2 separate regions of the Homo sapiens genome follow, and region 1 is linked to region 2. Evidence: promoter capture Hi-C in human tissues and cell types (Jung and others, 2019). All regions are on one chromosome and are shown on one strand. Each heading gives the region's core, a stretch centred on a gene start or on the middle of the fragment in contact. The rest is flanking DNA. Distances are from core to core; before and after follow the strand shown. Region 1 holds the start of LINC02831 (long intergenic non-protein coding RNA 2831). Region 2 holds the start of MEIS1 (Meis homeobox 1).

What was found. The method cuts DNA at HindIII sites, captures the fragments that hold promoters and counts their contacts. A contact is called where the count stands out against the background at its distance.
Region 1: a fragment that was not itself captured here is called in contact with the fragment with the promoter of MEIS1 in region 2 in 2 of the 25 tissues and cell types used here (IMR-90 fibroblasts and heart right ventricle).

Annotation. Positions count from the first base shown.
Region 1 is chr2:67,562,968-67,565,667 of GRCh38, forward strand. LINC02831 (long intergenic non-protein coding RNA 2831) reads left to right here and starts at 1,333. Exons shown (of 7, transcript NR_183413.1): 1 at 1,333-1,498; 2 at 1,836-1,919; 3 at 2,610-2,700. It overlaps LOC105374786 (a long non-coding RNA gene), which reads right to left. Exons shown (of 4, transcript XR_001739524.2): 2 at 1,461-2,677; 3 at 815-948; 4 at 1-62. RefSeq lists an enhancer at 2,685-2,700. The HindIII fragment of the contact is 7,980 bases long and covers 1-2,700 here.
Region 2 is chr2:66,433,832-66,436,531 of GRCh38, forward strand. It overlaps MEIS1 (Meis homeobox 1), which reads left to right and starts at 1,294. Exons shown (of 13, transcript NM_002398.3): 1 at 1,294-2,037. The coding sequence starts at 2,026. RefSeq lists a silencer at 346-445, enhancers at 690-1,566, 1,154-1,253 and a promoter at 1,052-1,592. The HindIII fragment of the contact is 8,281 bases long and covers 1-1,853 here.

The DNA.
Region 1 (2,700 bases), core at 77-2,576, 1.1 Mb after region 2:
ACATTCACTTTCTTGTCTTTGGGCAGAACTGTATCATATGGCACCTCCAGTTGCAAGGACATCTGGAAGACAGAATATTTAGCTTTTTCAGACTCTGTATTAGAGACAGGTAATGAGATCCCCTTTGGGAATGAGCGATGAACTGGCCAAATTACAGTTCTAACTAGATAAGCGAAAGCCACAGCAGGCCAGGTGAAATGGAGGTACGGGAAAGTCCAGGGAAGAGTTGTTTAAATCAGTGGTTTCAACCTGGGATGTTCATTGTAATCACCTGGGTATCACCCTCAGCAATCCTAATTTAATTGGCCTTGGGTGTGGTCCAGCATCAGGATCTTTAAAAGCTCCTGTAAGTGATTCTAAGGCACAGCCAAGGTTGAGAGCTACTGGCTTAAAGAGATAAATATCAAGACTTGTATCCTCAAAGAAAATAGCAAAGGTATTAGGTATCTCACCAGCTATTATGTTTTGTGGATTTAAAGTCAAAGATTAAACAAAGGTTTTTAAGAGCTTATATCTGGAAAAGGAGTAAAAGTCTAGAAAAAAATTATTCCCTGATTTTGCAAACACTTGAGTGACAAACAGGCATTAGAACATGAGCAAGTTATTTTTAAAATAATATGTTGATTAATTAAGGTTCACTCAATCTAATAGTTGGAAATATTCATAGAAAAAGTGGGCAGTCTTATCTGTGTAATTAACTGGAAATACATCTCAGCTCCACCCCTTCCAACAGTGGGGGTCTAGTGTAAAATATTGACCTCTCGTAGAGTCTCAGTTTTCCCACTTATAAAATGCGAGAAATGATTGAACCTACCTCAAAAGCCTTTCTGTAAGGAATGATTGAGATAACCTGGATGAAAGGGTTAAATGTCTGGCATGTAGTAACAGCTCAATATCATCGTTCTTGGTCTCCCATTCAGCAAGCTCATTTACAAGCATTCATGTCACCTACAAAGAATTAGCAAGAATTGGGTCTGAAAAACACCAAGGTGACAATTTAATTACTGTTATATGAGGCTTGATGAACTATTATTCAACTATCCAGGGCAAAGTATTGTAAAAGAGATATAAAATGCTGCTGGAGGGACTTATGTTAGATATGATTTAAAAAAATAGTTAACTATGAAGGCAATAAAACATGATAAAACGTTAGTTGAAAAAGCAATGGTTTCTCCTCAGAAAGTCTGCTTTAATAGGAGATATTTTCATATTTCTAGAATAGTCTAAGCCATAGTGTGGTAAATAAATTAACTTTCAACATCCTTTTTGGTCTTTATGACTCAATAATTGTGACTCAACGATATAAACTTAGGAAGATGAAATTCAGATTTCAGTTGAGAAGCAATGCTGTTTCACCTCCCTGAGAGAATTGCCTTGTTTGTGAAATACTACAGAAAAACCTGTATTTTCTCCAGAAAATGAAAGGTCTTGGCCTGAGTAAATCAAGGCAGAAAACTCACCCCCGTGAAAGCTGCAGCTCTGAGAGTGTGTGGGCAGGGTGAGTGTCACAGGTTCAGGTTGTCTGGACTGCCCTTGGGACCCCAGCTCCTCCTTTCCATCATGTTGCGGTCCAGAGTTCAGTTCATACCATCCCAGATGATTTGGGGGTTTGCTTCCTCACTTCAGGCACTCTTTAAATAAGAGGCCTTGTCAGTGGCTCTTCCATCTGGCAGAAAGTGGGTGCTCAATAAATATTTGTTGAATGAGCCTGATCATTCTGATGAAAAGAGACCCCTTTGTTCTTTTGGGCCATTGGGTTTACCATTTACTAAACGGCCTGTGGCTTCCTGGTCTGACAAATTTATAGCACCTGTTTATGTCTTTCTCACCCACAGGCTTCAACAGAATACCTGTGGCTGCACTTACAAAAGGCAGCCAGAAGGACCCGTCCATTCTGGAAAGTACCTTTAGTCTGAAAGGTACAAATCAGAACTTTCACCACATTCCATCTGGCACTCACTGGTGGTGCCAACACCTCAAAAACCCTGCCGGGGCCATTTGTCACCATGTGGACACAGACAGACCACCAGTGAAAGTGGAATTTTTGAATGAGCTTGAATGACCTGCCTATATGTGTAGACAGCCATGGTCACTTTTTCTCCGTAGGATTAGATGTGCTGATTCTAATGTGGTTCACATTAGGCTATTTTCTTTTAAAAGTGAAATTTCTTTTGGAAGCCTGGACATTTCTAAGACGACTTCACATCTATTCACTCATCTTGCCTTCCAAAACAGCTGCTCACAATCTGAATATTAGACTACAAATAGCAAAAACAAACCTCTGTTGTTATTATTACTATATTATTAGGGTTTTTTTAGAATCCCAAGGAATTCTTTATATAATGTAGAGTAAGCTATTAGAAGGAAATCATTATTTTCAATGTGGTTCATCCCATGGAGGTATGGATGGAGAATCCCTGCTCTTTCCTGGAAATGGATGCTGGTTCTTTAGAACAGTGAGTCTTCTTCAAACTGCATAAAATAATCATTATGACATAATCAGCAGCAGTGTGTTACACTCTTGTCATTTTTCCCTAGTGCATTTCCAGGTCTCTATCAGCAGAATTGGAATTACTTCATCATTTTCAGCATTTCTTTTTCCTTTCCAGCATTTATTGCAGAAAAAATATGAGGCTTGCTGGTAGTATTCCCAGGTGACAAATGTGCACCCAACACCCTACAGAAAAGAAGAACCATAAA
Region 2 (2,700 bases), core at 44-2,543:
GGAATTAAAGCCCAGGCAATAGGTGTTAAAGTTAAAAACAAAACAAAACAAAAAACAGTGGTTGGTTGGAGCCTCCGAGTTGTAGGTACAGGCAGCTTTTGTCTGAAATCTCAGCTTCCGAAGCGGATTTCTTTTTCTCTGGCACTGGGAGGTTTCGCCGAGCCGGGTTGGGGACGGGAAAGAGGAGCGCGGGGAAGGATGTCTGGGGTGGTGAGGGCAGGGCTTCGCTGGAGAAAGAGCTAGTGGGGCGCGAGGTTCTTACAGGCCCGGGAGAGGTCGAGGCTGGAGCCCCTCGGCGCCTCTAAGACAAAGGCAGCGGTGGCTGCAGCCGGAGCCTAGCACTCCGGCAGCGTCGCGCCGCGCCGCGCCGCGCCCTGGGCGCACGGCCGCCTCACCCCGAGCGGGTCGGAGAAAGAGCCTCCCTCCCAGCGGCTCCCCGGCCCCGGCTCCGCCCGCGAGGTCTGGGCTGCTGCGAGCCCGCGCCGGGTTTCGCTTTCCGACGATCATAAATAGCTTGGTGTTTGTAAACAGGCGCTGGGGGCACATTCCCCGCGCTCAGCTCATTGTTCCCTCCCTTCCTCTCTACTTCGCGCAGGACGCCTGGGCTGGGGCTGGGAGCCGCCGGGGCTAGGAGGTGGGGGAGTCCAGACCCGAAGTGACAAAATGCTAGCATTTTCTTTCCCCCGGCCGGGCGTCCACCTCTAACAGCAAAGAAACCTCTAAGCTGGGTCTGCAGAAAGCCCGAGCCACCTCAACCCCATGTTCTCAGGACTCCTTAGCAGAGGCTTTCCCAACCTGGCTTCTCCCTCCTTTTCCTCCACGATCCCGCTTTGACTTTTCTCCTTGCAGTGTTTAGTTCTGAGAATTCAGTACTTTGCGCATCACCCCCTGCCCCGAAAAACACTGGCAGACCCCAATAATTTCGAGGAAAGTCATGAAGTCTATGCGCGGAGCCCTGTGCAAAATAACTCCCGCTGCTGCCTGCCCGGCGTTGATTCCCAATTTATTTCAAGAGAGTCGGCTTTGGGGAGAGAGTCTGCAGGGGGAGGGAGAGAAAAGAATACTGAAAATAAAGCTGGCGGCCGCGGGCTACTGCCTGCGTTTGTGTGCGTGTGCCCTGGGTGTGTGGTGTTTGTGCCTGGGCGTGCGATTTAATGGAGCGCCTCTCTGCCTCTCCAGTGCGGCCAGAGCTCGCTTCGCGCACCCACCCCTGCCGAGGAGCCTACTTGCTGCAGCCCAATGCATTGTGTAAGACGCGACCTGTTATGGCCACCACTACTTCCGGGTTCTAGCATTCTGGTCGGAATCCACCTCTCCGCCTGTGCAACACACACTTTACACACGCACGGGGACTGCAAGCGGGCAGCATCGATCGTGGCTCCTTTAAGACAAACTCAGACAGACATTTTTTTTAACCCTCCTTCTCTAATCTCCTTCCAGTGCAGCACTTGCAAAGAGGGAGAGAGAGGGAGAGAAAGAAAGAGAGAGAGAGAAGAGAGAAACTGATTAGGAATTAGGACTGATTCAAGGGAAGCGAGCGCTAGGGCTTTGTGCATTTGAATATTAACATTTGAGGTGTTCTGACCAGAAGAAGACAGAGCGGATGATCATTCATTCACCACGTTGACAACCTCGCCTGTGATTGACAGCTGGAGTGGCAGAAAGCCATGAGATTTGGTAGTTGGGTCTGAGGGGCGCTCTTTTTTTTCCTTTTCTTTCTTTCTTTCTTTTTTTTTTTTTAAACTGATTTTTGGGGGAGAGAAGATCTGCTTTTTTTTGCCCCCGCTGCTGTCTTGGAAACGGAGCGCTTTTATGCTCAGTGACTCGGGCGCTTTGCTTCAGGTCCCGTAGACCGAAGATCTGGGACCAGTAGCTCACGTTGCTGGAGACGTTAAGGGATTTTTCGTCGTGCTTTTTTTTTTTTTTTTTTTTTTTTCCGGGGGAGTTTGAATATTTGTTTCTTTTCACACTGGCCTTAAAGAGGATATATTAGAAGTTGAAGTAGGAAGGGAGCCAGAGAGGCCGATGGCGCAAAGGGTACGTATTAAAAAACAATTGTGGAACTCAAATGTGAGATTAAATTGAAACGTGGCCGAAAGACACTGCTAAAAAGTTTCCTTTTTTTCTCTCTCTCTTTTAAAAAATGAGGCTCCTAAAGCCGTGGCCTAAGCGAGAGGATTTATTCAATGCATTTGTAGACTTATGTATGTTACTTGGAGTTGTTAATTAAAGGAATCTATTTATCTATAGATTCCTAACCAGCAGCTATATAAATAAAAATGCAAGCTCAAACAATCATCTGGGTTTTTTTTTAAAAAAGCTAGATACCTAAAGCTGTAATTTGAACATTCAGAGATCAGAAGTTTAAAGTTATGTTTAAACTAAAATATGCAGCTGGAAACTTCTGATATGTTATTGATTATGCTCATCTTTAATATCACTAGAAGTATTCAGCTTTTTAAAGGAAATAACTTTGTCATAGTATAGCCAATTTTTTGGTCAGAAAACATTCATCTTTTTATAGTAATTTCAATTTGTATAGACTTGTATACAAGGCAATATTTTGCAAGTTTCTCTTAGATAAGCCCTCTACTAATTGAATACTAAGCACACAGTTACTCACTTTAAAAATGCAATACTAATTTCCCCATATTCCTTTTTCAATGGAAATGCAGTGAGAGTAAAGTGAGACAATGACAA